Linked DNA regions of Homo sapiens: all the other regions are linked to region 3. The links are contacts of gene promoters, found by promoter capture Hi-C in blood cells and fetal thymus (Javierre and others, 2016). All regions are on one chromosome and are shown on one strand. Each heading gives the region's core, a stretch centred on a gene start or on the middle of the fragment in contact. The rest is flanking DNA. Distances are from core to core; before and after follow the strand shown.

What was found. The method cuts DNA at HindIII sites, captures the fragments that hold promoters and counts their contacts. A CHiCAGO score of 5 or more calls a contact.
Region 1: a contact is called between a fragment that was not itself captured here and the fragment with the promoter of CPN2 in region 3, in 1 of 17 cell types (M0 macrophages). The highest score is 5.7, in M0 macrophages.
Region 2: a fragment that was not itself captured here is called in contact with the fragment with the promoter of CPN2 in region 3 in 7 of 17 cell types (M1 macrophages, M2 macrophages, naive B cells and 4 more); the score reaches 9.6 in M1 macrophages.

The regions. Positions count from the first base shown.
Region 1 is chr3:193,817,572-193,820,805 of GRCh38, forward strand. No RefSeq gene overlaps it. Among named protein-coding and RNA genes, the nearest start is that of LINC02038, 25 kb to the right of the region's middle. RefSeq lists enhancers at 1,232-1,860, 1,861-2,488. The HindIII fragment of the contact is 710 bases long and covers 1,533-2,242 here.
Region 2 is chr3:193,800,081-193,803,208 of GRCh38, forward strand. No RefSeq gene overlaps it. Among named protein-coding and RNA genes, the nearest start is that of LINC02038, 42 kb to the right of the region's middle. The HindIII fragment of the contact is 1,297 bases long and covers 1,125-2,421 here.
Region 3 is chr3:194,350,050-194,353,327 of GRCh38, forward strand. CPN2 (carboxypeptidase N subunit 2) reads right to left here and starts at 1,279. Exons shown (of 2, transcript NM_001080513.4): 1 at 1,193-1,279. RefSeq lists an enhancer at 755-1,604. The HindIII fragment of the contact is 6,903 bases long and covers 1-3,278 here.

The DNA of each region.
Region 1 (3,234 bases), core at 638-3,137, 530 kb before region 3:
ATAACCTTATGAAGCAAGCATTATGATTATTTCTATTTTATAGATGAGGAAACCAAGAAAAGATATGTTAACATTTAATCCAAGATCACACAGCTGCGAAGATTCAAAGTCAGGCAGCCTGGTGCCAAAACGTGAGCTCTTTAACACGTTGCTATTCTGCCTGCTGTTGGTGATTGATCACAGGTGAAGGCCTGTTCCAATAAATGAGGTCTCTCAGCCCTGACATTCTAACAGTGGTGTTGCTTGTAGAGACACACATTTTATACTTTGAGTTTTTTTTGTTGTTGTTGTTTAGATCAGAGTTTATCTTGGACAATATTGGCTGAGTTCATAAGCCAAAGTCAGAAGCACCTGTCATCATCCTGTGGGGCTCTGCTTCTGGGTGGACTGTAGGAGAAGTCCTGAGAGGAGAATGGTCTGGGCAGCATTGCCAGAACTGGGCTACAAAACAAGATTGTAAAACCACTGAACAAGAGAACCCCCGATGGTGGTGCAGAATGTGTGGGGCCTGCACCCTCCAGCTTGCAAAGGCTTCTGTTCCCTGGACACCTGAGGCCTTCGCCCAACAGTAGTGTTGGGTTGGGTTGAAATATCCACATGCCGGCCGAGCGCAGTGGCTCATGCCTGTAATCCCAGCACTTTGGGAGGCCAAGGTGGGCGGATCACGAGATAAGGATATCGAGACCATCCTGGCTAACAAGGTGAAACCCCGTCTGTAGTAAAAATACAAAAAATGAGCCGGGCGTGGTGGCAGGCACCTGTAGTCCCAGCTACTCGGGAGGCTGAGGCAGGAGAACGGCGTGAACCTGGGAGGTGGAGCTTGCAGTGAGCCGAGATTGAGCCACTGCACTCCAGCCTGGGTGACAGAGTGAGACTCCATCTCAAAAAAAAAAAAAACAAAAAAAAAAACAAAACGGAAATATCAACATGCCATTGCTTTCAGTGATGGCACAGGTCCTGCCTTTCTAAGATGGTGAGAGGCTCGGGGGCAGGGAGGGGCAGAATACAGCTTGTAACCTGATGTCCATAAAGCTTTTTGGTCCTGGGGTGTTTTTTGCTGAGCATACTGACCGAATATGTGCATGACTGTAGGGATGGGGCATCTATGAGACGGAAGTAACCATGAGAACAGCTATTAAACAAATGAAAACAGGTCGGCCATTCACTGCAGAGTTCAACTGATGCCTTCCCGGAAATCTCATTTGAACCCCCAACTTGCTTTTATGAGTTTAATCCTCTTCATCCCCTCTCCTTAGCCAAGTTTCATTCCCATTTGTTTAATTACCAGTTGTATGAACAAGTCCTTCCATTTTCTCTTACTAGGTTTTACATTTTCATTCATTGACACATTATAAAAATTAAAGTTCTTTACTAGAGAGAGGTGAATTCTGCTTCAGAAGAGTGAGTTTTTATGGGGTGTCAAAATTTAATGTGGATAAGAATGCACCATGGAATCACCAGGGTGTCTGGTTAAAATGCCGATGTGGCTTCCATCGGTCTGGGAGGTGGCCTAGGATTTTACGTTTCCAAGAAGCTTCCAGGTGATGACAATGTTCCTGGTCCACAGACCACACGTCGAGGTGCAAGGTTGTAGAGAGCCTGTGAGACAAACCACATTAACCTGAAGACTAGAGACCAAATAGCCATTCAAGCAATGCATCTACACTCTAAACAGCCCTATGGGCAGGTAAGTACTGCAGCCTCATCCCCGTGGGGAGCCTGGACCAGCCTCACTCGGCTTCTCTTTCAAATGAGCCCATCTGTTGACAGGCTGCACCTGCATTCACATCTCTGCACCTGCATCTCTGCTCAGGTACATTTTTGTCCTAAATCCCTGAAGCCAGGCTTTGTAAAAAGCCTGAGCTGGCTAAAGAATTGCTAGGAAGAGGAGGCGAGATGGTGTGCCAGGGGCATAGCGAGGAACGGGGGACTGGTGGGCCATGCCGCGCAGTGCCTGGATGGCCATGGTTGCCGAGTTTTGAGTGCAGGAGTAATATAATCTGATTTTTACTTTAAGAGGTATTCTCTGACTTTCGTTAGAATGGACTGGAAAATGGGACGGGGGAATAGAAACCGGAAGGGGAGGTAAGTGGCTGTTGAAGTTCCAGGTGGGAGAAGGTGGCTGGACTGAGGAAGGCAGCAGCAGAGCTGAAGAAATGCATGTCTAGAACTTCCCTGTTTATACTCGGGCCTCTTGAGAACAGGGAATGTGCTTTACCCATTTGCCTGCCTTCTTCAGTCAAGCTTCATGAGTGGTAACACCCAGCAGCTGTAATTCTCTCAGTTCCCACTCGCATATTCATCTGCAGCAGCCTGGTTCTGCCCTGCAGTTCTATTGGAACTGCTCTGTCAGAGACCACCTGGGATCCTCACAGAGTAAAATAACCTCATTTAAAAATTCTGTCTCGCCACTTCTATTCAACATGGTATGGGGGTCCTAGCCGGTTTAATAAGTCATGCAAAAAACAAGGCATACACCTTGGAACAGAAGAAATAAAACCATTTTTTTGTGAACAATGTGATCATATATGTAGAAAATCCTAAGGAATTTTCAAAAAGCTACTAGAACTGATAAATGAATTCGACAGTGTCTCAGAATATAAGGTTAATATGTAGAAATCAATTGTATTCCTATATGCCGGCAAAGAACAACCCAAAAAATAAAACTTCAGAAATTCCATTGACAGTAGCATAAAAATATTTAGGAATAAATTTAATAAAAGATATTTTAGACTTATACACTGAAAACTACAACATATTGCTGAGAGAAATTAAAGAATACCTGAATAAACAGAGAGATATGCCATGTTATTGCTTGGAGGTCTCAATGTTTTTAATTAAAGATGGTAATTATTTTTAAATTAATCTATATATTTAATGAAATCACAATAAAAATCCCAGTAGACATTTTTGTAGGAATTGACAAGCTGATCCTAAAATTCATTTGAAAAGACAAATAACCTAGATTAAACAGAACAATTAAAAAAATTTTTTTTAATTGTGGTAAAATACACACGAAATTTACCAACTTAATAATTTTTAAGCTTACAGTTTAGCAATGTTAAGTATATTATCATTGGCCTGCAGCGAATCTCCAGAACTTCTCATCTTCCCAAACTATGTTTAATAAACTTCATTTTATTTTATTTTTTGAGACAGAGTCTTACTCTATTGCCCAGGCTGGAGTGCAGTGGCATGATCTCAGCTCACTGCAACATTCACTTCCCGGGCTCA
Region 2 (3,128 bases), core at 523-3,022, 550 kb before region 3:
GACAACCTAGAAATACAATTTCCAGTGAAGCTGGGAAAGGTATACTGCAGGAGAGGAAATTACAGGCAGAAGACACACTGGGAAACCATGGCCCTAGAACTGACGAGGAGGCCTCAGCATGATGTGACTGAGGTCAAGGCTGAGAGATGAAGCTAAGCCATGTTCTCCAGCAGGTCACGAAGATTGGCAACCCATTACAACACACACTGTGAAATAAATTCCCACGTTCTAGCCAATGGCCCCCTTCTAAAATCATGGCCAGGACATCAAAACTGCAGGGTCACGGAGGAACTGAGGCCGTTATTTCAAGTTCTGACCATGGGTAAAACACAAGACTTTGCTGATTTGAATATTAATCGATAACACTCCAGCTTCAGTTTAAATACAACTTGGGCCTCTGCATAAGTAAAAACTGAGCAGAGTTTTGCTCTTACCATGCTGTGATCCTGCCGTTATCTTCATCTGGCAGGGACTTCCTCTCCTGTTAAAACTTTTAAGCATTCCTTCTGTGCCGTATCTGTTACACAGAGCAATACATAATGGACTAGACAGGATTATTGGCCCAAATGACAAAACCAGATGTGATATGGAAGTTTTTTTCCTATAACCACACATACATCTTTGGCCTCACACAGCTGTTCATTGTAAATAGGAAGATTCACACAATGGGCGAGATGGGGTGCAAAACCCACCATCCACATTCCTTTAGGGGTAGGAAGTGGAGAAGGGGCATTCCTCAGGTCTTGTCTCCTGGCCCCAGCAGGTGTGAGCTGTTGCCTACAGGATGTGATCTGCAGATTGTGAAGGGGCCACCTTCTAGAGGACAGCATGGTAGCAAAAACCTCTTGGGATGGGAACCTGGGCCCCAGTGCTGCCGTTTCATGTCCCGAGATTTGGGACAAGTCGTGTCAGCACTCCAAGCCTCAGTGTGCTTCATCCATGCAGTGGGGATGAGAGAGTCCTTGTCCTAAAAATGTCTTTCTCAGGTTTTTAAAGTTAGGATTATGTTGGCCTCATAAAATGAGATGGGAAATGGTCATTTCTTTTCTTTTTTTCTGAGAGCTTCTGTAAAATGGGTCTATAAGTATGTGATAGAAGTCACCAGTGAGACCATCTGGGTCTGAAGCTTTCTTTGTGGGAATGTTTTTGAATAAGATGATGAATTGAAATTTTTGAATAGAAATTGGGCTGCTTAGATTTTCTGTTTCTTGTTGAGTCAGCATTGGTAAGTTATGTTTTTTGAGACATATGTTCCTTGAAATAAATTATTGACTTTGTTGACAGAGTTCATAGTATTCTTTTATTATCCTTTTAGTGTCTGTAGGATCTATAGGATATCCCTTCTTTCATCCTTGAAATAAGTCATTTATGTTTACTTTATTTTTTTCTTGATTAATTCATAAGGATTTGTAAAGTTTATTAATCTTGTCAAAGAATAAAGCGTGGCTTTGCCAATTGTTTCTATTTGGAGTATGGTTTTTATTTCATTGCTTTCTGGTCTTTCATTTATTTCTTTTTTCTTATGTTCATACTTTTTTTCTCCGTTTTAGATTTAATGTGTTATTTTTCCAGCTTTCTAAGGTAGATACTTAGATCATTGATTTTAAACCTTTCTTCTTTTTAATATAAGCATTTAAGCTATAAATTACCATCTAAGCAATGCTTTAGTTGCATACCATACATTTTGGTATGTTGTATATTCATTATCAGTCAGTTTAAAATATTTTCTTTTTTCTTTCTTTCTTTTTTTTTTTTTTTTTAAGACACAGTCTCCCTCTGTTGCCCAGGCTGGAGTGCAGTGGCACAGTCTTGGCTCACTCAGCCTCTACCTCCCAGGTTCAAGTGATTCTTATGCCTCAGCCACCCAAATAGCTGGCATTACAGGCGTGCTCCACCAAGCCTGGCCAATTTTTGTGTTTTTAGTAGAGACCGGGTTTCACCATGTTGGTCAGGCTGGTCTCAAACTCTTGGCCTCAAGTGATCCGCCCACCTCGGCCTCCCAAAGTGCTTGGATTACAGGTGTGAGCCACCACGCCTGGCCTCAAAATATTTTCTAACTTCCCTTTTAATTAATTCTTTGACCCAGGTCCAAGTTCGAAGCATGTTATTTAATTTCTAAATATTTGGAGGATTTTCTAGGTATCTTATTGTAATTGGCTTGTAGCTTAGTTTTGTTTGCTGGAAGAATACATTCTGTAATACTTCAATTATTGGAAACATTTTGAGATATATTTTGGGCCTCAGCAAATGTTTGATCTCAGTCAATGTTCTATTTGCAGCTGAAAATCATGTGTATTTATACTTATTGGGTGTGGAAAGTTCTATAAATATCAATTAAGTTGTGTTGTTTGGATCTATATCTTTACTGTTTACTTTTTTGTATACTTGTCCTATTAATTACTAAGAGAGGGATTCATAGCAAGCTTTTTAAAGCATAAATCAGAATATGGCCTTCCCAGTGTAAATTCCTCAAAGTCATCTTAGTGCATTTAGAATAAAATCTAATCTAGCCTGGGCAACATGGCAAAACCCTGTCTCTACAAAAAATACAAAAAAAAATTAACCAGGCAGGGTGGTGCACGCCTGTGGTCCCAGCTACTCGGGAGGGTGAGGTGGGAGGCAGAGGTTGCAGTGAGCTGAGATCACGCTACTGCACTCCAGCCTGGGTGACAGAGTGAGAGACTGCGTCAAAAGAAAAAAAAAAAAAAGGAATAAAATAGAATCTTGCCCTGACCTGTAAGAGACTATATAATTCATTTCACGTCCTTCCCTCAGATCTCCTCTTCTAGGACACCAGCCACCTCCCCACCCTAAACACTAATTATACACCAGTCACTCTGGCTTTTTCTCTGTTCTCTTAACCCACTAAATCTATTCCTCAGGACTTTTGCATTTGCTATTGCTGTTCCCTTAGCGTGGGCTTATATCTTCACCCAGATGATCGCACAGCTACCTCCTTCACACCCCTTAAACCCAAATGTCATTGCCCCAGAGATACCTCCCAGGACCTCTCTATCTGGAGCATTCTTTATCACATCACCCTGAATTATTCTCTTTCAATAATTTTTAACTATTAAAATTAACCCCTTTTATTAATTTTTTTGTGTTTATGGTTTGTATGTTAGTTG
Region 3 (3,278 bases), core at 29-2,528:
CCTCGGCCTCCCAAAGTGCTGGGATTACAGGCGTGAGCCACCGCGCTCGGCCCTTTCTTGGGTCCTCGGATCCCTCTTGTACTGTGTTGAATGTTTGGGCTCTTCCGCTCTGTTTTCTAGTCAGTTGCACCCACCCGACTGAGCCCGTGGTACTGCAGTCTTGCTGTGGTGTCTCTGCAAGCAGCTCTGCACCCCAGCACCTGGCTCGGGGCCAGGCACTGAGAAGGCAGTCAGGCCCTGTGTGCTGAATTGAAGGAATGTGTTTGTGGCTTTCAGTGACTTCGCATCTCAGGCCTTACTCTCATCCTGCTTAGTAGCAGGGGAAAGCACTTTAGCTCCGCCAGTGCCCCCAGCTGGGATCAGATTCTGACGCCATCACCTACTAGCGGTGTGGGCTTGTGCAAATCACTCCAACTCTCTAAGCCTCAGGTTTTCCAGACTTAATTATCACCTCTGCCCTCAGAGTTCAAATTAGCACTCCATTGGATGATAAATAGGCTAAATAAGATAGTAAATAGAAAGCCCTTAACACAGCGCCTGGCACATACTGAATGTTCAATAAAAGGTGGCCCCCTGCAGGTTTATTTCACCACAAACTTTATTATATGAGCCAGCACGCTTCTGGGAAGGAAACCAGGAGCTAGTCATCCTTGGGCCTGAGCTGGGTGCTGTGGCATGCGCTTGTAATCCCAGCTACTCAGCAGGCTGAGTGGGAGGATCGCTTGAAGCCAGGAGTTCAAGACCAGCCTGAGCAACATAACAAGACCCCCATCTCAAAAAACAATAATTATATTAATAAATAATTAATAATATTTAGTATTAATATAGGATTAATAAGTAATTAGTAATACTATTTATTATTATTATGCCAAGATGACAAGTATAAACTAGGCAGAACCAGGCCAACCTGGACATCTGGTCACCCTGCTTATCCTCTACTCACTACCAGCCTTGTAGGCCAGGACTGGCAGATCTTCATCTCACAAACCCCCGCCCCACCTTCCTCCTGCCTCTTCCCAGCAGCGCCCTAGCTGAGCACCTCAGGGACTTCTCCTCCCGGGGCAGGGGCCCCCCAGAACCGCAGCCTGCCTGGAGCTGCGGAATGCTCTGAAACGGGGGAGATCGCAAGTTCCCGTTCCTGCCCCCACGTCCCTGCAGACCCTGGAGCCCTTCAGCGACCCCGGGAGCCTACCGTGAGGGCCGAGCGGGTGGCGCCGGGCTGCCCTGTCTTCCTCAGGAGCAGAGAGGAGTCTGGTGTGGCCTGTGGTCAGCTCAATCCAGCCCCAGCGCTGATCAAAGTTCCAGGCAGTGGTTCCTCCCCTCACGTGGCCCCAGCGTCCCAGAATGTCACCAGGGTCACAGGACGGGAGAGGGCCTTGGCAAGGCCTCTGAAGATTACAAAATGACCCTGAACTCCTCCCATGTACAGAGCCCTGCCGGGGCCAAAATCCCACCGAGGTTGCAGGGTTGGCACCTTCAGGACCCCGAGGACACTCAGAAAGCTCTAGAGATTCCCGCAGGCGGCTGGGTTGGTGAGGCCTGGGATGGGGTCCACGCTCACACCCATACCTGTGAGCAGAGGCAGAGGGACTGGGAGCCTGCCTTCAGCCTCAGGCCCCTGCTGGGCTCTCAGCGCCCGGAGGCATTTCAAGAGGGCTGTGGATTTGTTGTTTTGTCTTGTTGTGTTTGTTTGCTTGTTTAATGAATGAACTTTCTAAACCCTTCCTGAATTAGAAGGGGGAAAAGCTATAGGGAGATGAATTGGGGCCCAATATGGAGAGGAGCGCTCACACACTCAGGGCTGGCCGAGGACGAAAGATGCTGCTTTGGAAGGGAGGGATTTTCCCATCTCCGGAGGTGTGGAACCAGGGCTGCAAGACACACGGAGTGTGTGTGTGCTGAGTGCGTGCATCTGGGGGTGTGCATGTAAGTGGGTGTAAATGTGAGTGGCTGTAGGGGGTGTGTGGTGAGTGCATGTGTGGGGGTGTGTTGTGTGTGTAAGTGGGTGTATGTGTGAGTGGGTGTGTGCGCGCGTGGGTAGGGTGTGTGTGTGGTGAGTGCGTGTGTGGGTGCGTGTGTGGGTGTATGTGTGAGTGGGTGTAGGGGTGTGTGTGGTGAGTGCGTGTGTGGGGGTGTGGTATGTAAAGAGGGTGTATATGTGAGTGGGCGTGTGTATGTGAGTGTAGGAGTGTGTGTGGTGAGAGCACATGTGTGATGTGTGTGTAAGTGGGTGTATGTGTGAGTGGGTGTAAAGGTGTGTGTGGTGAGTGCGTGTGTAAGTGGGTGTAGGGGAGTGTTTGGTGAGTGCATGCGTGTGGGTGTGGGGTGTGTGTGTGTAAATGGGTATATGTGTGAATGGGTGTAGCGGTGTGTGTGGTGAGTGCGTGTGTAAGTGGGTGTATGTGTGAATGGGTATGTAAGTGGGTGTAGGGGAGTGTTTGGTGAGTGCGTGCGTGTGGGTGTGGGGGGTGTGAGTGGGTATATGTGTGAATGGGTGTAGGGGTGTGTGTGGTGAGTGCGTGTGTGTAGGTGTGCAGTGTGTGTAAGTGGGTGTATGTGTGAGTGGGTGTGTGTAAGTGGGTGTAGGGGTGTGTGTGGTATAAGTGGGTGTGTATATGCATGAGTATGTCTCGTGTGTGTAGAATGAGAGTGTGTGAGAAAATGTGTGGTAAGTGGGTGTGAGTGTGCAGTGAGTGGGTGTGTGGGTGTATGTGTGTGGTGAGTGGGTGTGTGTGTGCAGTGTGTGGGTGTGTGGTGTGTGTGGTGAATGGGTGGGTGTGCGTGTGTGCAGTAGGTGTGAGTGTGTTGGGGTATGTGTGTGTGTGGTGTGTGGTGAGTGGGTATGTGTGAGTGTGCACTGAGTGAGTGTGAGTGTGAGGATGTATGTGGGTGTGTGGTGAGAGCGTAGGAGTGGGTGTGTGGAGGCGAGCAGGGTGAAGGGGTGACCTGGACGAGCAGTCTAAGATCGTTTCAATGCCAGGAGTCTACCATTTAAAGTAGACTGATGGCTTTTTCACTCATTGCATGGTATTGATTTTTATCTACGCTTTTTATGAGTACAAATTAATGTTTCTTTTGCACGTGAGCTGATTGCATCAGCCAAACTGCAAAGGTCTAATGGAGTGTGGCAAGGAAGTGTGTTTCAGTGGCGATATGCCACAAATGCACTCTGGCAGAGGACAGCGGGAGCCTCTGGGATGGAGACAGGCGGTGAACAGTGTGCCCAGCTCCCCCTCAGCGGCCCCCGGGCTGGCAAGGGTGGGACAGTGGCTGGGAAA